Regions from separate parts of the Homo sapiens genome. Here all the other regions are linked to region 3. The links are contacts of gene promoters, found by promoter capture Hi-C in blood cells and fetal thymus (Javierre and others, 2016). All regions are on one chromosome and are shown on one strand. Each heading gives the region's core, a stretch centred on a gene start or on the middle of the fragment in contact. The rest is flanking DNA. Distances are from core to core; before and after follow the strand shown. Region 1 overlaps DNAJA3 (DnaJ heat shock protein family (Hsp40) member A3). Region 2 overlaps CDIP1 (cell death inducing p53 target 1). Region 3 holds the start of PPL (periplakin). Region 4 overlaps MGRN1 (mahogunin ring finger 1).

The links. Contacts are between HindIII fragments. The CHiCAGO score rates a contact against its expected background, and 5 or more counts as called.
Region 1: a contact is called between a fragment that was not itself captured here and the fragment with the promoter of PPL in region 3, in 1 of 17 cell types (neutrophils). The highest score is 5.1, in neutrophils.
Region 2: a contact is called between a fragment that was not itself captured here and the fragment with the promoter of PPL in region 3, in 3 of 17 cell types (M1 macrophages, neutrophils and M2 macrophages). The highest score is 5.3, in M1 macrophages.
Region 4: a contact is called between a fragment that was not itself captured here and the fragment with the promoter of PPL in region 3, in 1 of 17 cell types (erythroblasts). The highest score is 5.2, in erythroblasts.

The regions. Positions count from the first base shown.
Region 1 is chr16:4,441,763-4,447,275 of GRCh38, reverse strand. It overlaps DNAJA3 (DnaJ heat shock protein family (Hsp40) member A3), which reads right to left. Exons shown (of 12, transcript NM_005147.6): 5 at 4,856-5,008; 6 at 4,112-4,259; 7 at 2,548-2,612; 8 at 262-390. Among named protein-coding and RNA genes, the nearest start is that of DNAJA3, 19 kb to the right of the region's middle. The HindIII fragment of the contact is 654 bases long and covers 1,811-2,464 here.
Region 2 is chr16:4,520,178-4,526,005 of GRCh38, reverse strand. The region is part of intron 1 of CDIP1 (cell death inducing p53 target 1); the gene reads left to right. Among named protein-coding and RNA genes, the nearest start is that of CDIP1, 16 kb to the left of the region's middle. RefSeq lists an enhancer at 3,234-4,098. The HindIII fragment of the contact is 937 bases long and covers 1,519-2,455 here.
Region 3 is chr16:4,932,393-4,938,693 of GRCh38, reverse strand. PPL (periplakin) reads left to right here and starts at 1,546. Exons shown (of 22, transcript NM_002705.5): 1 at 1,546-1,710. The coding sequence starts at 1,649. RefSeq lists a silencer at 1,204-1,603. The HindIII fragment of the contact is 7,029 bases long and covers 1-4,991 here.
Region 4 is chr16:4,635,337-4,641,602 of GRCh38, reverse strand. The region is part of intron 1 of MGRN1 (mahogunin ring finger 1); the gene reads right to left. Among named protein-coding and RNA genes, the nearest start is that of MGRN1, 14 kb to the right of the region's middle. RefSeq lists an enhancer at 3,366-4,330. The HindIII fragment of the contact is 5,962 bases long and covers 693-6,266 here.

The DNA of each region.
Region 1 (5,513 bases), core at 888-3,387, 490 kb after region 3:
ATGCGCCCAGTTCCCAGGCCCCGCTAACCAGTGTGGGAGTGATGCCAGCCAGGAACTGCTTCCCATGCGATTATAGACTCAAGGCCTGTGGCTTGTGGTCCACACTCAAGGAGCAGCCTAAAATTCCTCATGTCCTCCCCTGTGAGTGCCCCCCCACATGCTGGTCACTCATGGGTTCCAGGCCACTGGTCAGTTCTTTTCCATTTCAGAAAAAGAGCAATAAAGTACAGGGGTGACAAAGGTGTTCTCACACCCTCTTACCGTCACGTTGATCGTCTCGTACAGGCCCTGGGCTCTGGCTGTACCCCCAAGAAGAGCCTGAGCTATAGAAATAAAGAGGTCGGAGTGGATGTCTGCGCCGTCCCTCCGGAACACAGGGCTTTTCTGCACCTAAGGCCAAACATGACAGATGCATGTGAAGATAAGTCCACTGCAGACTAAACACCAGCTGCATGCCTGGCCAGGCCCAAGCTCAGACCTGACAAACTACACACCCCTTCCATACATAAAGTGCAGTGTTGAGGGAAAGAACTGTCCTTCCAACAAGGAGACACCATCCCAGGCCCAGGAATGACATGTTCTACATATTTCAACACTGCAATGTTCTACACACTTGAAATGCCGAAATGGAAGCGTGCCTGGATTTCCTCAGTCTCAGATCAAGCCATTCAATCGTGAAGGGAAACAAAAATGTAAAACTGGCTTTTGATTTTTTTTTTTTAATCTTACTTTAGCCAGGCACAGTGGCACACACCTGTAATCCCAGCACTTTGGGAGGCCAAGGTGAGTGGATCACCTGAGGTCAGGAGTTTGAGACCAGACTGACCAACATGGTGAAACCTTGTCTCTACTAAAAATACAAAAATTAACCAGGTGTGGTGGCGGGCCCCTGTAATCCCAGCTACTCAGGAGGCTGAGGCAGAAGATCCACTTGAACCTGGGAGATGAAGTTTGCACTGAACAGAGATCACACCACTGCACTCCAGCCTGAGCAACAGAGCGAGACTCCACCTCAAAAAAAAAAAAAAAAAAATCTTACTTTATTAGAAAGTATAGGCCAGCCGTGGTGGCTCACGCTTGTAATCCCAGCACTTTGGAAGGCTAAGGTGGGTGGATCACCTGAGGTCAGGAATTCGAGACCAGCCTGCCAACATGGTGAAACCCCATCTCTACTAAAAATACAAAAATTACCTGGGTGTAGTGGCGCATGCCTGTAGTCCCAGCTACTCAGGAGGCTGAGGCAAGAGAATCGCTTGAACCTGGGAGGTGGAGGTTGCAGTGAGCTGAGATCATGCCACTGCACTCCAGACTGGGCAACAGAGCAAGACTCTCTTTCCAGAAAAAAAAAAGAAAAAAAAGGGAAGAGTAAATAATATAACAAGCATGTCATACCCACAACCCAGTGGAGGTAACAAAATATCACAGGCCGGGCGCAGTGGCTCATACCTGTAATCCCAGCACTTTGGGAGGCCAAGGTGGGTGGATCATTTGAGCCCTGGGGTTTGAGACCACCCTGGGCAACATGGTGAAACCTCATCTTTACTAAAGATACAAAAGTCAGCCGGGCCTGGTGGCGTGTGCCTGTAGTCCCAGCTACTCAGGAGGCTGAGGTGGGAGGATCACCTGAGCCCAGGGAGTCTGAGGCTACAGTGAGCCAAGACTGCCCCACTGCATTTCATCCTAGGCAACAAAGCAATACCCCACCTCAAAAAATAAAGTAAAATAAAATAAAACATCATAAACACCGGTGAGTCTTGCCCTCCTCAGCTAACCACAACCCTGACTTTAACATTTATCATTCCTACAAGCTTCTACTTACTATGTATTTCCGTGTCCCTAAATAATACATAATGCCATCTCACAGGTTTTAAAACTTTACACAGATGGTCTCTGAGGCCCTACAGCCACTGGCAAGCTGCCTTCCATCCCTGCTGTCTGTACCTGCAACGCCTGGAGCATCCCTTGAGTTCAGCTCTCATTCTTTCCTTCCGACTGCCCTGCAGCAGCCTCTGACCACCACGGCTCACTGAGCCATTCTCTTGTTGGAGGAAGGCAGTGTCTTGCTACCATGGACAGGACTCTTGTGCACCCCTTTGTACCTATCGCCTGCTAGGCTTGTGTGGGTTTTTCTCAGGTGTACACATAGGAGGGCAATTGCCAGTAGAAGGCATTGTCTTCATTAATGTTTCCACCATCTCAGAAAACCAAGGTTTGCCCCTGTATACAGTATGTAAAATTGTAACTTTCACACTCACTGCCTCATCAACAATCTTATCATAAAAACACAAGATGTTTCCTGTATTTTTATGTGACCTGTATTTCTAACTTGTTAGCATGTTGAAGAAGTTGTCTTCTCTCCACACAAGGCACAGAATCTTGAAGGTAACAAACAGCTAAAAACCACATCTAGGTGGCCACTGTGCCCCTCAGAAACATGAATGGCGAGACATGTTCCTGTGAAGCTTTGATTACATGGGAGCAGCCTCAGCCACACCCACCCGAAGAGAGGAAAGGCCCAACAGAAGCTGTGCGGGGCAGGGCACCTACCCTGAACGTAATGAAAATTTCCCTTTTTCCCACAGGCATCCTCACGGTCTGGCCATCCTCGACTCCTACAAGGGACATTAGAAAGGGAGAAGTTAGGCAGGACGCGGTGGCTCACGCCTGTAATCCCAGCACTTTGGGAGGCCGAGGCGGGCAGATCATGACGTCAAGAGATCGAGACCATCCTGGCCAACATGGTGAAACCTGGTCTCTACTAAAAATTAACTGGGCGTGGTGGCACACGCCTGTAGTCCCAGCTACTCAGGAGGCTGAGGAAAGAGAATCGCTTGAACCCAGGAGGCGGAGGTTGCAGTGAGCCGAGATCACTCCACTACACGCCAGCCTGGCAACAGAGCGAGACTCCGTCTTAAAAAAAAAAAAAAAAAGAAAAGAAAAAGAAAAAAAAGAAAGGGAGCAGTTATTGTGAGACCTCCCACAGCACTTTCCACCCAAGATCCACTTGTAACCCACAGCTTCTTCCCCACTCCTGTTTCTTATTAACGAGGAACAATGTCATTATCTAAGAGGCACATGGGTAACCTTCCAGAGATGCAACACAGACACCTGATGACTGAGCACCTGCCTCAGGCTTGGTCTAGGCAGTACCTCAGGGAGTTCATGGTCTCACTGGGGTGATGGGTGTTAACCAAACGATAGCACTAATGCATAACTACAAACAGAGACATGCTCTTCAATGGAAATGCTCACAACTCTAGAGAAACAGACATCTAAACAACAGTAAAGCAGGCCACGCGCGGTGGCTCATGACTATAATCTCAGCACTTTGGGAAGCCGAGGCGGGTGGATCACGAGGTCAGGAGATCGAGACCATCCTGGCTAACACGATGAAACCCCGTCTCTACTAAAAATACAAAAAATTAGCTGGGTGTGGTGGCAGGTGCCTGTAGTCCCAGCTCCTTGGGAGGCTGAGGCAGGAGAATGGCATGAGCCTGGGAGGCAGAGCTTGCAGTGGGCCGAGATCGGGCCACTGCGCTCCAGCCTGGGTGACAGAGCGAGACTCCGTCTCAAAAAAGAAAAAAAAAAGAACAGGGAGGAGGGTGTGAGGCTAGCTAGGGAAGGGATACTCAAGCTGGGATCTCCAAGATGAATAAAGTTAACCGAAAAAAGAAAGCAGAAAGTGAGTTTTGGGCAAGGGAACAGTAGACATGGAGTGAGGGGTGGGATCCGTGGGGCTGATGTAGATAGGGTGGCAGCAGGGACAATGATGGCTTCGGTGACTAAGACAGGGGAGAGAGGAGAGGAGCCCGGGGGTTGGAAGCTGCTCCCTCACCAGGAAGAAGCAGAGTAGGCACGTCAGGTCTCTTCTCCCCATTGTGACATGCAAAGTGTAAATTTTAAGGATAACTGGCAGAAACAGAAAGATTCAAGGAGACTCCAGTTCCTCCTCCAGCCTGGGGCTCCAGGGCCTCAACCATAACTTCTACCAAGAGCCCACTCACACTCAGTGCAGTGGCCTCGGCCCTGTCCACCCTCTCCACACGGTGTGGTAGCCTCAACCCTGTCTGCCCTCTCCAAGCTCCTGGACATGGCGGGCCCAAGCACCCACCTGCAGGCACAGGGATCATCACTCGCTTTTTCTGCTTGGCTTGTCCTGCTCCCCTGCAGACCACACAGGGCGATATGATGATGGAGCCGCGGCCACCACATCTCCTACACGTGGAACGCATCACAAAAGGGCCTGTGTTGATGGTTTCCTGATAAAAACAAGAAAAATGGTAACCTAAGTACGCAGGTAAACTGATGGGTGGTTCTGGGACCACAATGTGCGTAAGAAAAATGTCTCTTTAAGGCTTGTTTTTTATGTGCATGTGCACTCAAACACACTGCCTAGGAACCCAGGTGCAGGGCCTCAATCTGTTCATCTGATTTTCTAGAACACACAAACTTCTGCACTCCAGATCATCAACTTGACCACACGACACTGAAAAATATGATACCGCCTGTCTACAGAAGTACCTGAAGACTCCTGGGAGCTGAACAGTACATTTAAAAAAGATTATTTCCCCTTGAATTACCAAAGCAATTGTTAGAAAAATAAAGAAGAAAGTGACAACTGGATGCAATCCCCCGCCCCGCCCCCGGAGCTGCTGTGCTCTGGTTGCTGAGCCTGTGGTATCAGGGAAAGAGGAGCACAGGCTCGTCTCCTCAGGGTCACGGGGGAAAGACAGCCAGGCTGAGTTCACCAACTCCCCCAATTCCCAGCATACGTTCTCTGGGAGCAGTGCCACAACCAGCTCTTCTCAGTCAGTGGTGCAAGCCGTGGGAGGTGGAGTCTCGGGCAGAGCCTTACCATGCCGGAGCCGCCACAGTAGTGGCAATGCTGCACCTTGGTGCCGGGCTCGTTCCCCTTGCCGTTGCAGCGCTCACACGTGTCCATGATGTTCACGGTGAACTCCTTGTTGACCCCCTTTGCAGCTTGATTGAATGTCAACTCCATGAAGTACTAAAGAAACCAAGGGACAGCCTGTCAACTTTTGTTTGCAACGACCAAAACTGACGCTCGGCTCTAAAGGGAAAGGAGGGTACTGGCCCACATTTTCAGTCACTCTTTCACCACTGTACTTACTTGCACTCTGCCAAGTAAGCATAGGTAGGACTCACTGAACGAATTCTGCCCTACTCTTTGGGATTTTTAAGAGATAATGTATGACTTAAATGAAAACGTACTTTCAACAGACTGAAAATGTTCACAGATAAATACTCGTACATGGCACTTAAAAACAGCCTGAATGATCCACAATCATAATTTAGATCATAAATATATCCCCTCTCTCTTCCACTCTGACAGTGTCTTATAAGGACATAAATGAGAGAGGATCAGCAGTGCCTTCCCACCGGACAGAACTCTCCTGGAATACTGTAGCAGATGAGAGACAACACTCACACCCTCATGGGCTCTGAAAGCCTTAGGTGCTACCTCATTATGCAACTGTTAAGAATACCATCAG
Region 2 (5,828 bases), core at 738-3,237, 410 kb after region 3:
TAAGTTGAGCTTGTTTTGAAGTGTTTAGAATTCCCAAGGCATCAGATACACCCATCTTCAAGTGTAAAAATAAATAAATGGTTCAGAGCCACCCGCGATGTTATCTGAGGGAGGGACTGTCTCGTCCTGCCTCCATCAGGACAATGGGAAATGGGCCATGTTCAGGATTTTCCAGGCCTGCCTGTGCTAGAACTTGGCAGCCGAGGACAACGGTCCCAGAGAAGGGGACACATTGGCAACCTCCCTGAGTCTTGGGAGGGCTCAGCCTCACTAGAGGCTGCTCTGCAACTGAGTGGACCTTTGTGGAGGGCCTCCTCTTTCCTGCTCATCACCCAGCGTTGGGAATAGGGTCCCTCTGGTCAGCTGCGAAAGGCCACAGGGAATCCTGGCCTGGTCCCACATGGACTTGGGTGGCTGGATTAGCCCCAGGTTTGGATAGGGCATGGTGGAGAGGGGAGTGGAGAGGGTTTGGGGCCCAGGAGCAGTCTCACAGCAGGGGCTCCCTTTTGAGCACCTCCTCACTTGGAGCACTTCCTTCATGTCCCTGTGCTGGGCACCTGCATCCAAACAGTGCATGCTCTATTAACGTTCACTGCACGCCATCGTCCTCCTCAGCTCCTCCTTGAGCCAGTGCTCATGCTGAAATGAGCACTGGAGTTGCAGAAGAATGTGTCCTCGCTCCAAGGCAACCAGCTGCACTTCTCTCGGGGCCTGTTTTAACTACGGAAGCATCTGCTCCAGCCTTCCCGCCAGGGAGTATTCCCCATGCCTTGGCCTCTGTACTGGCTGAGGCTGTGTCATGTGACCTAAAGAAAGCCATGATCCTTTTGATCATGGATCACTTGAAGAGAACTTGTGTTCCTTCAGACCTAAGGAACTGTAGAGATATATTTTTGTGGTGGAGGGGGGATAGAGTCTCACTCTGTTGCCCAGGCTAGAGTGCATTGGCGTGACATAGCTCTTTGTAGCCTAGAATCCCTGGGCTAGAACAATCCTCCCGCCTCAGCCTCCCAAGTAGCTGGGACCACAGGTGTCTATCACCATACCTGGCTAATTTTATTTTTTTGTAGAGATGGGATCTTGTTATGTTGCCCAGGCTGGTCTTGAACTCCTAGCTTTAAGCAGTCCTCCCACCTTGGCATCCAAAGTGCTGGAATTACAGGTGTGAGCCACTGCACCTGTCTGTGCTGTATATTTGTAATGACACTTGTTAATACTTAACCTGAAAATAATTTACCAATAATTAACCAGTAAACCAAGTTTTATTACTCATGTGGAAGATGTGGGAGGTGGTCAGTTAGTTGCTGGTGTGGTGTCCCATGGCTGTCCTAGGCACTGGCCTCCATCCCAAGGCCCTCATGGTGAAGCACAGCTACTGGAGCCATGGCATCTATCTTCCAGGTGGTAGATGGGAGGAAGGCAGGAAAGATGAAGGGCCTGGCTCCGGGCTGAGTCGGCTTGCCCTGAATGCCTTCTTATGGTCTGGACACTTCTGCTTACAGCTCATTAGCCAAAGCTTTGTCACTCTAAGAAAGCTCGGGGACCCTCTTGGTTGATGGACTTGCCCTGAGTGAAAGTGGAGTTCTGTATTCAAGAATGGGGGAGAGAGTGGATTTGGGTGCAGCTGGCAATCTCCAGTCTGTACTTCATTAGGCGGAACATTGCTGTTTGAGATCTTGTTATTCTGCCTTCTTCCTTTGCAGTGTGATGTGGAGGAGCACAGCACAGCTCTGTATGGGTGGTGGTATCTGCGTAGTAATTCATGGAAGGCGTCTCCAGCAATACAGCCTGGACATCTACATGTGGGATTTTGTTCAGCCTTCCAAGAACCTCATTTTGCACGTGGGGAAACTGAGGCTCAGAGAGGTTGAGGAATTTGTCTAGGGCTGCAGGCCATCAGCGGCGAGGCAGGGTCCCAGGGAGACCTGTGCTCTCCCAATATTCTATTGACAGTCAAGCAAAGAAGACCGCTGTCTTTGTTTCCAAGTGCCACAATGCAACAAGGCTGAATGGTGCCGGAGGTCTCCTGGGGAAGCCTAAAGCCTGAGGAGAAGGGCCTGGGACACTGTCCAGCTGGCCTTGTCATCCTTGTCCTGGAGATCTGAGGTATTTGAGCTCTGGAACAAACCCTGTGGCTGGGTCGCTGTGAGGGCCCCAGGCTGCCATCTGGCCACCCTCAGGGGCACATCCCTCCTTCCTTAGGCCTTGTGTACTCACTGTTCCCTCTGCTGTCCCCATCCCTCCCTTTGCCTGCTGGTCTCATTAACTCTTCCGCCACCTCCTCCCAGGTTTGCTTGAAGAGATGGTGTTAGAGCTCCAGAACGGCGATCTTGCTGTCCTTCTACTGTGCCCTGGACTTTCTCGATACCACTGGTCACAGATGTAATTGTGTTTGTGGTTTTTTGGCGAGGGGGGTGATTATTTAACGCTCATCCTCTTCACTTGACCGTAAGCTTCTGGAAGGCAGGGACATGTCTTTTTTTTTCTTTCTTTGAGATGGAGTCCCGCTCTGTCGCCAGGTTAGAGTGCAGTGGCGCGATCTTGGCTCACTACAACCTCCGCCTCCTGGGTTCAAGTGATTCTCCTACCTCAGCCTCCTAAGTAGCTGGGATTACAGGCACGTGCCACCACGCCCAGCTAATCTTTGTATTTTTAGTAGAGACGGGGTTTCACCGTGTTGGCCAGGATGGTCTCGATCTCTGGACCTCGTAATCCGCCCTCCTCAGCCTCCCAAAGTGCTGGGATTACAGGCGTGAGCCACTGCGCCCAGCCAGGGACGTGTCTTTAATCCCCAGCCTGTATCTGGCACGGAGGATGTGCTGAGTAACTATCAGAAGGAAGCACCATCCCCCGCCCTCCCCTTAGAGGGCCTCTGTTACGTGGTCACCTCACAGACTGTGCTTCAGCCCAGCCCTGGGGTGCTTGGGAGAATAGGCGGAACAGCTACGTGGTCAGCGGCCATCCCTTGCAAGTAACAGTCCCCCTCCTAATGACCCTCACGCTGCATGGCCCGTTACAGTGGTTCAGTAAGTTTTTATATCCATGCCTTACTTAATTCTCACACCGCCCTCCAAGGTGGGTTTGAACTAATCCGTCTGTGTGTTGGATGGAGATGTCACAGGATGGAAAGGCCTAGTGTGGGCCAAGCCTCCCTGGAAGGGTCCCCTTCAGGCCTGCACCCTTGGTGGGGATTCTGTGCTCTCCTTTTCCCGCTGCCCTGTCCCTGCAGGGTGCTGCTATCTGGACTGAGAGCATCTTCCCTGAGGCCCACGTGAGCTCCTGCTTGCTTCTGGCTCACTTCTTGCTTTGGCCTTTTCCTCCAGACCTGGTTTGGGCCTTGCCATTCTCTTTTCAGACCCAAGAAGCACAGAGAGTGTTTGTCTTTTACCTCGGCTCTGCCCCTCATGGAGCAGTGGGCACCTCCTTTATTCAGCACATGGAAGCTGCAGGCAAGGCAGAAATCGGCCTTTCAGTTTTCCCAGCAAAGCAGAAAGCCCTGTTCCTGGCTGGATGCCTGGGACCTGCCTCCTGGGGACAGAGGAGCCCCTCTGAGGCCAGCTGGCGTCCTGACGCCATGGCTGCCACGTGGGTAAGCACCTCCTGGGGATGCAGCACCAAGCCAGCCCAGCTCTGAGAAATGTGTCTGGGCAGCAGCTGCTGCAGAGCCCCTGCCACCAGGGTGTATTGGTGGAGCATCCTTCCAGGGGCATTGCCAACCTTGGGCACTCCCAGGCAGGCCCCTGGCATTTCCACAGCCCACCAGGAGAGATGGCCCTTGGAGGACTGCTAGTGTCTCTGCCTTCTCAAAGAGTTGTCTCGGGTTACCGTGGAGCAGGTGGCCCAGCTGAGCTGTGCTGTGAGGGAACGCTGCTGAGCTGAGTTCTTAGGGAGGGTTTTGATTGCAAGTCCCTCCAGAATCCGGTAGAGGCATCCCCTTGTAGTCATATTAGTGAACATGCACCAGGACCCCTCGTTGGGAATCAGAAGGCACTCCATGGCAGAGGCGTCAATACCTGTTGTTTTCCTCCCTGTTGGAAGTTGCCTAATAAAGCATAATAATAGCAGTTTCCATTTATTTAGCGTCATTGTGTGCTAGGCCCAGCGTTTCTGCTGCAGGCGTTTCACACACAGTCTCTCTTCAACCTCACTCCCACCCTGAGAGGTAGGCATGATCATCTCTGTTTACAGAGGAAGAAACCGAGGCTCAGCTCGCTCAGCTGGAAAGTGGTGGGTCTTGGGGGTCTGGGTTTGAATTAAGCTGATGCAGAGCGGGCCCCCCCGCCTTTTTTTTTTTTTTTTTTTTTTAATATTGATGACGTCTTGCCATGTTGTCCAGGCTGGTTTCGAACTCCTGGGCTCAAGTAATCCTCCCGTCTCGGCCTCCCCGAGTGCTGGAATTACAGGCCTGAGCCACCACACCTGGCCCAGAGCCCATGTTCTTGACTGCTTGTTTCATTTAAAGCCTTCCACCGGGTGGCAAGCACATCCCTGGGGTGGGGCCTTGCCAGAACAACAAACTCAGGGCCTCCCCAGGAGCGACTCCAAGACTTGCAGGCCACTCTTGATCCTTCTGGTTGTGAAGTCCTGTCCCAGCCCTGCACTTGGCTGATACGCACCCCTTAACTTCTAGTGGGGGTTCCTCTAGCACAGCAGTTCTTGAAATGTGATCTGCAGTCTCCTGGGGGCTTCCTGAGACCACTCGGGGGGCTAGGATCAGAACTGTTTTAATAATAACACGGCCATGATTTGTTACCATGCCTCTTTGTTTGTGATGGCTTTCACATTGATGGTGTAGGAGCAGTGCGGAAACAAGCTGTGGGGCCTGCACTGACTCAAGACTGGCACCACACTGTGCTGGTCTTGTTGTAATTGAGTCTTCACCACCACACACACAGTACACACACACACACACACACACCAGTGTTGCATCAGAAAAAGCAGTAAAAATCAACTTTATTAAGTCCTGACCCATGAGTCCACAGCTTTTTAAGATCCTTTGTGACGAAATGAGGCACACATGAAGTATGTCAAATGGAGTTTGATGCTGTCGTGAGGAAAAGCACACGTGCATTCATTTGAAGTGTGGGCCGAACTAGCTGCCTTTTTCATGGACTCCATCTTCACTTAAAGAACAACTGGCACACACCGTGGTTATTCAGATTTGGATATTTAGCATACACTTTCTTGAAAATGAGCAAAGTGAACTTGCTACTTCAAGGGAAACAACTGACCTTTTATTTTTGTATATGTTGCTGTTTCTATATTTGTTAGTGCTTTGTTGCCAGTGATGAAATTCAAGCTTTCAAATGATGATTAGCGTTAACAATATTTAGTGACTTTAATGACATTGGTAGTGATACCAGCAATGTGATTTAAAAAAATATATATTGTTCAATGAGATGTGTCAACATTGGTAGATCTGCATTACAGGAACCCGTATTTTCAGGTGACCCACACATGATGTTAAGAAATCATGTCTATGTAAAAGACCCATTCCAAATGCAAGGTACACCAATGACTTCTAATGTAACACATTAGAAAAAAACCATTGTTAAGGCTTCCAATTCCTGTGGCAACTAACCCTTAAGAAACTACCACTTGTCGGTCAAGTGCGGTGGCTCACACCTGTAATCCCAGCACTTTGGGAGGCCGAGGCGGGCAGATGACGAGGTCAAGAGATTGAGACCATCCTGGTCAACATGGTGAAACCCCATCTCTACTAAAAATACAAAAATTAGATGGGTGGCATGCCTGTAGTCCCAGCTCCTCAGGAGGCTGAGGCAGGAGAATCGCTTGAACCCGGGAGGCGGAGGCTGCAGTGAGCCAAG
Region 3 (6,301 bases), core at 297-2,796:
GGCCAAGGTGGGAGGACTGCTTGAGCCCAGGAATTCAAGACCAGCTTGGGCAACACAGCGAGACCCCATCTCTACAAAAAACATATATAAATATAAAGGTTTTAAAAATTAGCCAGGCGTGGTGGTGGACACCTGTGGATCCAGCTACTCGGGAAGCTGAGGTGGGAGGATTGCTTGAGCCCCAAAAGTCAAGGCTGCAGTGAGCTATGATTGTGCCAATGCACTCCAGCCTGGGCAACTGAGTCTCAAAGAAGAAAGAAGAAAGAAAGCAAGAAAGCAAGAAAGGAAAGAGAGAGGAAGGAAAGAAGGAAGGCAGGCAGGCAGGCACAACTTTAGGAGGAATCACACCTCTATTTACGCCTAGTGGTCCATTATTGGAACGTGACGCCTGTGGGAGTTATCTCCTACTGCTCAAGGTCACTGCCAAGGTATGATTTATCAATTCAAAAAATTGCAACCTCAGGCATAAATGGGTTAAGCCCACCCATAGAAGCCCCATTAAGAATAAGGTTGGCTGGGCACGGTGGCTAATATCTGTAATCCCAGCACTTTGGGAGGCTGTAGGCCGGCAGATCACTTGAGCACAGGAGTTCAAGACCAGCCTGGGCAACATGGTGAAACTCTGCCTCTACAAAAATTTTTAAAAATTAGCCAGGTGTGGTGGTGTGTGCCATCCGGGCTTCAGGTCAGATTAGGTTTCTGTCTAAGGGCAGCCTCCTCCACTGGCACACAGTCTGGGCCAGGACATGCTGGCAGAATTGTGCAACGTCGTTGTTCTGAGCCGCAATCGAGCAGCTTTTATGACCAGCTATGAAGCGCTCTTCTAGTGCCAGGGCCTGGAGTTATTGAAGTTTCAAAGGAGTTTTTGTCCACCCGAGATGGCAAGCGGAGAGCAGATTCAGGCCAGGGCACTGCGCTCAGCGCTTTGCGTGCATTACCTGCAGGGACATCCCCACAGGCCTTTCGGATGGGGTGGTGGTTATCACCGTTTGACAAAGAAGTAAACTGTGGCTGGGAGCAGTAAAACACCTTGCCCAGGAGTGTCAGCCAACCTGGGGGTGGCAGGGCTTGAACTCAGGCCGGCGCCCTCGGCAGTTCAGCCCCCTTCCCTCAATTGCCACCATCTGAGTGCAATTCGCTAGCTACTAGGGCACATGAATCCGTGCGGGTCTCTGCCGCACCTGTCTTGCGGGGCCCAGCTGGGTGTCCGCCAAAGCACCAGGAGCGCCGAGTTCCGCGGTAGCGCAGAACCAGGTGAAGGCCTCGGCCAGAGGCGCGCCGGGCCCGAGGAGGGTGGGGCTGCGAGCGCTCGCCCCGGCGGCCTTTGCGCCCCAGTGCCTGCCCGGCCTCCGGAGTCCCCCGGCTGGGGGTGGGCGGCGTCCGGCCAAGACCCAGTGTCCCCACCCCCGCGTCCAAGCCCCGCCCGCGCGGTGGCCCCTCCTCGGGAAGGTAAGCACCACCTTCTCGGGGAGCGGCCCGCAGAGCCAGTGGCCGGCGGGCGCCCCGCCCCCAGCGAGTAGGGACCCGGAGCCACTGCCGCGCCGCAGTCCGGGCTCCCCGCGCCGCCGCTCGCTCACCTGCGCTCCCGCCCGCCCCTCGGTGCGCGCCCGGCCCGCCAGCCGCCGCCGCCCGCACCCCGAGCGCCACCATGAACTCGCTCTTCAGGAAGAGAAACAAAGGCAAATACAGCCCCACTGTGCAGACCCGGAGGTGAGGAGGCGCCCACAGCTCCGCTCCGGGACGCTCTTGCCCCTGTGGGCGCACAGGACCTGGAAGACCTCCCGGGCAGTGTAGGAATGGGGGGTACGGGGGTCCAGGAACCGGGAACTGAACCCGGAGTGCGGGACTCTCGGGAACGCGGGACCGAGGCCACCCTGAAGCTGGGAAGCGCCGCCAGGTGGGAAGGGACTGGCTGGGGTCCCCGAGGGGGAGCATAACACAGGGGACTCCGGGAGCCCAGGGAGCATTGCCTTGAGGGCCTAGGGCACGGGCAGCTGAGCTGGGGGTACAGGGCACCCCCGTGTCCCAGGGTCGCTCTTGCGCAGAGGGTCGCACAGGACCGGGAATAGTCACCTGGATGAGGGGGCGGAGTTTTTGGAGGACCGGGCACTCAAGGCGGGGTCGCTGCGGGCGACCCAGGAAGCTCCGTCCAGGGGGCGCCCTGAGGCAGGGAAACTGAGCTGGCGTCGGGGGGCGCTCTCCAGCGCCTCTGAGACCGCGCAAGTGTTCCTGGCGTCGGGGAGGCGAGGGATGGGTGTCCGGAGGGGGCGGGCCACCCGCCGCTGCACTTCCCGGCACCTGCCACCCTGCGCGCCAGAGCCGCGCCCGGAGGCCCTGGGGGGTGTGGGGTCGGGTCGAGGGGCACAGGGGGAGGCACCCCCTTACCTCCCCACCCTCTGGGTTCTGAGCGGAGGTTGGGCGGCTTCGGGGCCTCCTCTTCGAAGCTCGGTTTCGCAGGGGTGTGGCTCCCTGCCCCCACCCCAGCCCCGAAACTGGCGGCGTCTCTGAGCCGCGGGTTCCCAGGGCGGCCTGGGAGGGGAATGGCATGTCTTGATGTGTTTGCAGGGAGAAGCAGCCCACGTCCCTTTTGATAAGCCTAATGTGTTCACTTAATAACCGGTTTAGGGGAGCCTGGTGGAGATGCTGAGATTGACGGAGGGGGTGGGAATCCAGCCCCTGCCTTATATCCCCACTTCGGAAAATAGAGTGGGGGCTCTGGGCTAGCAAGGACCATTTTGCCAGCTTCTCGGACAAGAGGCTTCAGGCAGGTGAGGGGCCCGCACATTACATGGCTCTCCTGTCTGGGAGTTCTGCCCCCAAGCTGCTCTCACTGGGAGCCCCCACTGTGCCCTCAAGCAGCTCCTCACTTCTTCCCTAGGCAAGGAGAGGCCTCTGGGCCCAGGGCTCCCACTCAACCCCTGCAGTCCGGCCTAGGCCGACCAGTCGGACAGGTGCAGGCGGCGGGGCCCTAGCACGCTGGAGTGCGACACTCCATTCCGGGGCCTTCCAGCCCTTTCAGAAACCCCCCTGCCCTGTGATCCCACCCACCCGTATCTCCGTTTGGGCTCTTTCAAGCTCAGAGGCATTACCCGCCTTTAGAGATTTCCCCACCCCTCCCCTATCTTTCACAACCCCAGAGACTGGGCAGGGCCTGCACACCCCTCCTCCATGGCTGCGTCCAGCTGGCACTCAGACCCAACCAGAGGCCCGTCCAGTCCCTGCACTGTTCCCTGGGGCATTGCACAATTGGATGCTCCGTGCCAGCCGTGGAGAACCGTTCTGTCCTCTCCACCCCAGAGACTAGACCCATCCAGTCCTTCACACATGCAGACACCCACATACCAGTGGTGGGGCCAGGCCTCGCCCCGCCCTCTGCCTCCTCCCAGCCTCCCTCCTTCGTGCAGCTCTCCATCCTGAAGGCCCCAGCTTGGACCTAACAAAAGGTTCTAATGAACCCAGACAAGCTGGGAGGGGTGCGGGCTTTCCCAGAAGCATGAGGATGAAAGGCATCCCATCCTTTATAGCTGCAGGGACTGGGAGGGTCTGGGGTGGCAAAGATTTGGGGTCCTGCCACTCTCTGTATATCTGGCCCAAGGCAGCCACGGTCTGTCCTAGGCTGATAGCCATTGGTCCCAGATCTCCATTTAGACGTCTCTTTCTCCAGGAAGCCCTCCTGATTCTCTCCCCAGCCTGGGGTGCAAGACCATTCCTTTGAGCCTTGCCACCCCAGCACAGAATGAGCACAGCCACAGCCCTGAGCAGATGTCAGATGCCTCCCCGGGTGGTCTCCAAGCCCAGTGCATCCCTCTGCCCCCTCCCCTTAGTGGGGACTAGTTCGCAGACTGGATTGTGGGGTGGGGGTAGCCCTGTACCCCATCCTCTCAAACGCATCTCTTGAACATTGCCTGATGCCCAGCCAGCCCCATAGCAAGTGTCTTGGTGGGGGGGTGGAGGGGACAGACTTGCGGCTCTAGGCTGTGGTCGCTGGTCACAGGGAGTGGATCCCCAAGTTATTCCTTCACTCTGAGTTTTCCAGGGGCCCGCTCCATTGTCTGGGGGAGGACAAAATTGCTGGTGAGATTCAGCATGGGGGGCAGTAGGAGCTCCAGCACTGAGAGCAGAATGCCTCACTGTTGATCCTGGCATCTCCACCCTGGAGCCTCTCGAAGCCTTGTTTTCCCTTTCTGCACAGCACGGGTGGTAATACTGAGTGTCTCATGCATAGGGCTGCTGGGAGGAGCAGTGCTGTAGCACACAGGAGGTGCCCGGATGAGGGTAGCAGCCCTTTCCGAGCCCAGGGGACCCAGGAGCCCCAAGTGGTGACTTTCATACCCAAGGTAGTCAGGCCTTTGGACTACAAAGTGTGGATTAGTGAACGGAACACCCCACCGAGAAAGCCACCCCTTCCAGTTTGTCTGCCTTTTAGCAGCTGAAGCTGGGGAGGGCCGGGACAGGGTGTGAACCCCGTTGCTCCCGTTGCCCGGGTTCCTAATGACAGGTGTGGGAGTTGATGTTCACACCTGAGCTAATGACAGAGTCAGGCCAGATGGTGCAGGTGACCGAGGACAGCCTCCAGCCTAGTAGAGAGGCCCTGGAGGAGACCCGCTGCCACCCTCCTGGCTGTGCGACCTCAGAGGAGCTGCTTGGCTTCTCTGAGCCTGTTTTCTCACCTGTGGGATGGGAATAAGCACGGTGCCTGCCTGGCGATGTTGGCTCAGGATTAAATGAAATAATGCAGGGGAAAGGTTGTGAATGATAAGCGGCCGCAGGTAATAGCATCTGTGACGATTACAGTTATTAAGCAAATGCGGGCAAGCTAGCTGTGGTGTACCCAGGGTTAAACTTGATATCATGGTGGACAGGCTGTGCACTGCACAATTCCATAGGCACTGTTGCTGGGTTTTAGCACGTGGTCGTGGAGGAGACGTGGACAACCTCCCTGCACTTGAGTCGCTGGCAGTCACATCACAGAGATAAGATGGAGTTAAGCTTCAGTACATGTATGGTTACATGAGCGTCGGACTGATGGGGCCAGGCAGGAGCAATGGAGCATAGAGCCGGACAGATGAGGTCTCCACCCTGGCCACTCACATACTTTGTGACAGGCCTCAAGTGAGAGTTGTCACAGTCAGAGCACAGATGCTGGGAGGTGAGGGAGGACTTCACAGAGGAGGCATCTGACCTGTCACGGGGTGGGATGGAGTGGCCAAGACCCAGCTCTGCAGTCAGGCTCAATTCTGCCTCTGCTTGAAAAGAAACATAGCATCCCTGAGCCCCAGCGCTTCTGAATTTGTTGAATGGGATTAATCTTGCCCCTCCACCCAGACCTGGGTCCCAGTAAACACCCAGCAGCCTGGCCTTGCCTAGACGGGTCTTGCAACACTGGGGCCGCCCTGATGGAGCGCTCCTGCATGGGAGGCAGGACCCCAGGCTTTGAGGGGAGAGCTGGCAAAAGGGAAGCATGCTCTACTGGGAGGCACCTGGGGTACCCTGAGCCTCTTAGTGGTTAAGAACACAGTGTTTTATTAGCTGGGCATGGGGGTGGGTGCCTGTAGTCCCAGCTACTCAGGAGGCTGAAGCAGGAGAATCCCTTGAACCTGGGAGGCAGAGGTTGCAGTGAGCTGAGATTGTGCTACTGCACTCCAGCCTGGGTAAAAGAGTGAGACTCTGTCTCAAAAAGAAAAAAAAAAAAGCAAGAACACAGTGTTTGATGCTAGCTGGGCATGAGTTCAGGCCGCAGCTCTGGGTCTCTTAAGCTGTTTGATCTTGGGCAAGTCACTTAATGTCTCCGAGCCTCAGTTTCTTCATCTATGAGGTGGGGTGACAACAGCAACCCCCAGTTGGTGAGGCTGCTGGGTAGATCAAATGAGGGGATGCACATGATGGGTCCAGCCCATGACCTGGTTCAGAGCGAGTGCCCGGCAAATCATAGCAGCCAATACTAGGAAGCACACACTGCTATTAAGAGTCATGACGGGCTGGGCGCGGTAGCTCACGCCTGTAATCCCAGCACTCTGAGAGGGTAAGGCGGACGGATCACTTGAGGTCAGGAGTTCAAGACCAGCCTGGCCAACATGGTGAAATCCCATCTCTACAAAAATAAATATTAAAAATTAGCTGGGTGTGGTGGCGGAAACCTGTAATCCCAGCCAGATACTGGGGAGGCTGAGGCAGGAGAATCACTTGAACCTGGGAGGCAGAGATTGCAGTGAGCCGAGATCACACCACTGCACTCCAGCCTGGGAGACAGAGCGAGACTCCGTCTCAAAAAAAAAAAAAAAAGATTCATGACTGAGCCAAG
Region 4 (6,266 bases), core at 2,424-4,923, 300 kb after region 3:
AGGTTGCGGTCAGCCGAGACTGCACCACTGCACTCCAGCCTGGGGCAACAAGAGCAAAACGCTGTCTTAAAAAAAAAAAAAAAAAAAGTAGCCAGGCACAGTGGTATGTGCCTGTAGTACCAGCCACTCAAGAGGCTGAGGCAGAAGGACCATGCGAGCCCAGCAATTTGAGGTTGCAGTGAGCTATGATTGGGCCCCTGGGCCACTGCACTCCAGCCCAAGCAACAGCGTGACTCTGTCTCCAAAAAACAAAAAAAAAATCCTATTGCTCACACATGGGTATCCACACATGGAGAAGAAACACGGGAAGGAGACCCTAGGTCCCTGATGGGGCAGGAGGAAGGGACCAGGCCTGGGGAAGTGTTAGGGGCGGGGCCGCCCTTTCCTTTGCCTCAAGAAGAATGACACACATGTGGTGTGTGCGTGCATGAGCTGTGTACATTTGTATGTGCACCAGCTCAGGACCAAGAGGAGCAGGCAGCGCTGCCAAGGGGGTGGAGGAAAAAGAAAAGGAGACTGTGAGTGGGAAGTGGGAAGGCAGCTGTGGAGGTGAAAGAACGCAGGTGGAACCACACCCACCAGGCTCTCCCTCCACACCTGCTGAGGTCAGCGCCTTCACCCCCTTTCCCGCTGGCCCCAAGGAAAGAGGGGCAGACAAGGCCCACACTTTCAAACATACAGGAAACGAAGCTTGGCTAAGGCCCCCAAGCTCATCAGCGGTGGAGCTGGGGCGCACACCCCGACTCCAGAGCCCACTTGTTTCTCAGTCTCTGTGCTGGGCACCTCCCCTCCTGCAGCCGGGGGACCACGGGGACAGGAGTCAGTGGTGTCATCGCCAGTGACAATGGGCACTGTTCACACACAAAAAACCACACCCAAGGGGCTTCCCCAGCAGAATGGCTGAAAATCCTCCTGTGGGCTCACAGAGCCCGACAGACGCCACAGGGTCCCAAGGTTGTCCTGGAAATCCCGGCTATGTGGAACCAACACACTCAAGGACCCAGGGCCTCAGGGCAGTCCTCGAACACCACTAAAACAAAGGCATCCTTCTCCCCTGGTTTACTGTCACCCCCAGGGGGACTGGAGCCCAGCAGTTCACTGCCTCCCTGCCCGAGGGATTCGGACTCTGGGTGGCTTGCAGGTGTCCGGGCAACCTGCACAGGGAGACAACAGCCACAGAAATGAAAACTGCAAAATCCCTTCCGTGGGAGGCCTCGAGGCATTCCCCGAACAGCCTCAATGCTCTCCACACATGCCTCCAGGCAGGAGGATACATACGTTTGTCATCTCTACAGCTGAGAAAAACCAAAACCACAAGGCCACAGGTCAGAGGCTGTCTTGGGGATGGCCAGGGGAGGGGGACAGCCCTGTCCCTTCCATACAGGCCACAGAGTGAGCCAAGAAGCCTTCTGGGCCCGTCTTGTGTCTCTTGCACCTTGTCAATATCTTGTGGTACACAGTGTGCAATGAACGCCACCAGACATCTGCGAGAGGAAAACAGGGACATTCCGAATCACTGAAACAAGCCAACCTTGGAAGGGCGGGAGGCCCGGGACGCGGCAAGGCCTCCCAAGAACGCGGGCGAAAGGCGAAGCACAGGCCATCTGAGTGCACAGACGGACTCAACGCAGCAGAGGAGCCGCAGCAAACACCGTCGGAGCCGCGGAGCGTGGAGGGCAGATGAGTAAAGTAGGGTCTTGCTATCAAGCCTGAAAGCACCTGCCCCGCCTGCCTGTGCCTGAACTCCACGCTCACAGTTTTCAGGGAGAAGTCTGACCCATGTTTATCAGACCAGAGTTCAGGGCCCACCGGGTCAGAGGTTCGTGATCTGGACCCTTGAAATGCATTTGCCTCCAAACCCACCAACCCTGGTACACCCCTAAGAGAAAGAGGCCGGGCTCAGATCATGTCAGAAAGGCCTTTCCTCCACACCCCCAATACGGGGACCATGTGTGGATCCACAGGCAGGCGTTCCTCATCCTCCCGCACCGAGGGGGCAGACGCTGTGCATCTGGGGACAGGATGCCCAAGTCATAGGCAGGCCTTGGAGACAACTGTCCTGCCTGTTCCATCCTAGGTAGCCCAGGCTTCCTCCTGACCTTCCAGATGCCCCCAGCCTAATGATGCCCAATGGTGAAGGTTGCTGCACCCTGACCTGAAGGCCATGGCCAAGCTCCCCGCTCTGCAGACCAGTGATTCCACATGCCCTGCCCACCCCGCCCCACCTTCCCGGCCTGGGCTATTCCCTCCTTGGGATGCCGCGGTGAGGCCAGCCTGGACCACCACGCAGGCCAACTGCCAGCTCGTGGTCAACGCTCCCGCCGCCATTCTCCTCATAGTGTCACTGCTGCTTTATCTCGTGTACCTGTTGGTTCCCTCTGTCCTCCCCAGCCCAAAAGTAGGCATCATCCTCAACTGTCCACGGCCCCGCATCCTCATGACCTCCCCGCTCCATGCCTAAGAGCTGGATGAACACTCACCTAATGAATGAAAGCAGATGCTGTTGTTACTGGTGTTTGACAGTCAGGGAAACTGGCCCGGTGAGGCTGAGTGACCTGCTCAGGTCACACAACCAGTGAGAGACATTCTCACTGGGACCCCTGGGCAGACTCCAGAGCCTGCACTGTCAGCCATGGGAAGTAAGCCAGGATGTGAATGAAGACACCCAGCATGTCTGCCTCCTAAGAAACACAGCGGCCCAGGGACCCGGGACACCAGGGGTGGACTTCACTGGGCTGCCTCAGCCATCGTTCCCACCCGAGGAAGGGGGAGTGGGAAGGCCACGAGGTGTCTGCAGGGGCTCCGAACAGCTCACTGATTCCACCTGCTGAAAATTCTCCTCGTGTTCTAACAGGACAGGTGTTCCTGCTTACCAGTCTCACAAAATCAGCTGCTGCATTGCCAATAAACCCCAGGTGGGCCAGACCTGCACAAGATCAGGTCCCAGGATGCCCCCACCAGGTGGGAGGCCAGAGGGGGTGGCAGCCCCACAGCCTTCGAGTGCTCTGGGGGTCCCACCCAGCTGTATCACCCACGCATTGATCCCCCTGGGCCTACCATGCTTCCCTGCCTACTACCAGTCCCCCACCCAGCTGGGGAAGTCAACATGGGCTGAGATATTTATTTATTTTTTTTTTTGAGACGGACTCTCGCTCTGTCACCCAGGCTGGAGTGCAGTGGTACGATCACGGCTCACTGCAACCTCTGCCTCCCGGGTTCAGGTGATTCTCCTGCCTCAGCCTTCCAAATAGCTGAGATTACAGGCACCCGCCACCACGCCCAGCAATTTTCTGTATTTTTAGTAGAGACGGAGTTTCACCATGTTGGTCAGGCTGGTCTCAAACTCCTGACCTCGTAATCCACCCGCCTCGGCCTCCCAAAGTGCTGGGATTACAGGGAGCCACCACACCCAACCTTGATTTCTTTAACTGCAAACTTGAGATGAGAGGGCCACCCTAAACTCAGGACGTCCTGAGGATAAAAAATGCCAATTAACACAAAGGAGCCTCCGGCAGGTGTGAACACACTGGCTAGAAGTCCCTTTCGGACCTCCCATATGTAAACGTGATACCATATTAAATACAGGGCTCTGGCTTCCAGTGCGGAACACAAAGCTGAGAACAACTCTGACTAAGCAAAGACGCTGGGGCACGGAGGGGGCATAAGCTGTAGTCACCTTTTTTGTTGGGGGTGTGTCCTCCCCTTTTCTGGAAACAGCCTCCACCACCCTCAGGGTGGCCCCCACCCCCTAGACAGGGCTGGTTGGCCCTAAGGTGGACACTGGCACACTGGGCCATCCGAATTCTCCCTCCTGTGGAATGGGACCAGGGACGACGGCAGCACTTGGCCCTTGACCAGCCTGGTGGGTGGCGATGGCCTCACACACGCCGGAGCAGCTGGGGCGCTCTGCAGGACTGCAGGATGGCGCTGAGGCTGGAGCCGAACAGAGGCTCTGGGTTCCCGCAGCTTCCACTTGTCCGTTTCCCCTGAGGTTACTGGGACTTCCCTCGGAGCCTTCAATACACTCCATTTCTTGCCTGGGCTAGCTTCCATAAACGGCACTAAGGCGGCCAATTTCCAAAGAATTAAAACCATAATAAAAAGCACTTAGGAAAGAGCTCCTATAAACCAGTAAGAAAAAAAGATAACTCAATTTTTTTTTTGTTTTTTTCTTTGAGACAGTCTCACTCTGTCGCTCAGGCTGGAGTGCAATGGCGCGATCTTGGCTCACTGTAACCTCCATCTCCCAGGTTCAAGCGATTCTCCTGCCTCAGCCTCCCCAGGAGCTAGGATTACAGGCACCCAACACCATGCCCAGCTAATTTTTGAATTTTTAGTAGAGACGGGGTTTCACCATGTTGGCCGGGCTGGTCTTCAACTCCTGACCTGAGGTGATCTGCCCGCCTCAGCCTCCCAAAGTGCTAGAATTACAGGTGTGAGCCACTGAACCTGGCCACTCAATTTTTTTTTTTTTTTTTTTTTTTGAGATGGAGTCTTGCTCTGTCGCCCGGGCTGGCGTGCAGTGGCGCAATCTTGACTCACTGCAAGCTCCACCTCCCAGGTTCACGCCATTCTCCTGCCTCAGCCTCCCAAGTAGCTGGGACTACAGGCGCACGCCACCGTGCCCTGCTAATTGTTTGTATTTTTAGTAGAGACGGGGTTTTACCATGTTAGCCAGGATGGTCTCGATCTCCTGACCTTGTGATCTGCCCGTCTCGGCCTCCCAAAGTGCTGGGATTACAGGTGTGAGCCACTGAGCCTGGCCACTCAATTGTTTTAATGTGTAAAAGACTTCACAAGGCACTTCAACAGCAGGACAAGAAACAGATGGCCAATTCGCATAGAGAAAGGCGCTCAACCTCACTGGTCATCAGGGAAAAGTACAATGAGAAATTCAAGGTGGAATTGAAAAAAAATTAAAAATAGCACACACCCCTCACCCTACCTAGTGCCAGTATGAATGCAGAGCGACCAACACCCTTGTTCTTGCCTGCAGACATGCAAATTCGTTCACTCCTAAAAGTTTAAAATCTACGAAGGCTGAATGCACCCAACAGCCCCAACAAGTCCACTCCAGGCATAAAAACGCACCCAAAGAGATCAGGCTCAAGGGCACCACCGCCAGACACAAGGATGTCCCCAGCTCCCCCGGAGCCCGTCCACGGGCAGCACTGGGACGCTGGAAGGTCCCACAGCAGACGCCAGATCACTCACTGCTCACAAACCCCGCCCGGCCATTGCATCCCATCTCATCCTGAGGTGGAGCAAGAAGAGCGCCTCCTTCCAGTTCTTTCAAGCTCAAACCCAAGCAGAAGTCACCCAGGGAGGAAGTCAGGGGGGTGGTTCCCAGGGAAGAAGGGGGAGGCAGGTTGTTCAGAAGGGGACAATAGGGGGCCTCTGGGGGCCGGTACTGCTCTATTTTTCTCAACATGTTCATTTTGTGATCATTTATCAAACTGCACATTAATGAGCTGTACATTTCCTAAATGTATGCTAGCCTTGGCCAGGCCCAGTGGCTCATGCCTGTAATCCCAGCACTTGCAGAGGCCGAGGCAGGTGGATCACCTGAGGTCAAGAGTTCAAGACCAGCCTGACCAACATGGTGAAACCCTGTCTCTACTTAAAAAAAAAAAACAGAAAATACAAAAGTTAGCTGAGGCCGGGCACGGTAGTCACATCTGTAATCCCAGCACTTCTGGAGGCTGAGGCAGGCAGATCACAAGGTCAGGAGTTCAAGACCAGCCTGGCCAACATGGTGAAACCACATCTCCACTAAATATACAAAAAAAAAAAAAAAAAAATTAGCTGGGCGTGGTAGTGGGCACCTGTAATCCCAGCTACTCGGGAGGCTTTGGCGGGAGAGTCGCTTAAACCTGGGAGGTGGAGGTTGCAGTGAGCCAATATTGCGCCACTGCACACCAGCCTGGATGACAGTGCGAGACTCTGTCTCAAAAAAAAAGAAAAAAAAGTTAGCTGGGTGTGGTGGCCCACACCTGTAATCCCAGCTACTCCAGAGGCTGAAGGAGGATTGCTCGAACCCAGGAGGCAGAGGTTGCAGTGAGCTAAGATCATGCCACTACACTCCAGCCTGGGCGACAGAGCAAGACTCTGTCTCGAAAAAAAGAAAAAAAAAAGAATATGTTAGCCTCAATTTATTATTTTTTATTTGACTTATTAATTTATTTAGAGACAGGGTCTCACTCTGTCACCCAGGGTGGAGTGCAGTGGCGCAATCTTGGCTCACTGTGAACTCCACCTCCTGGTTT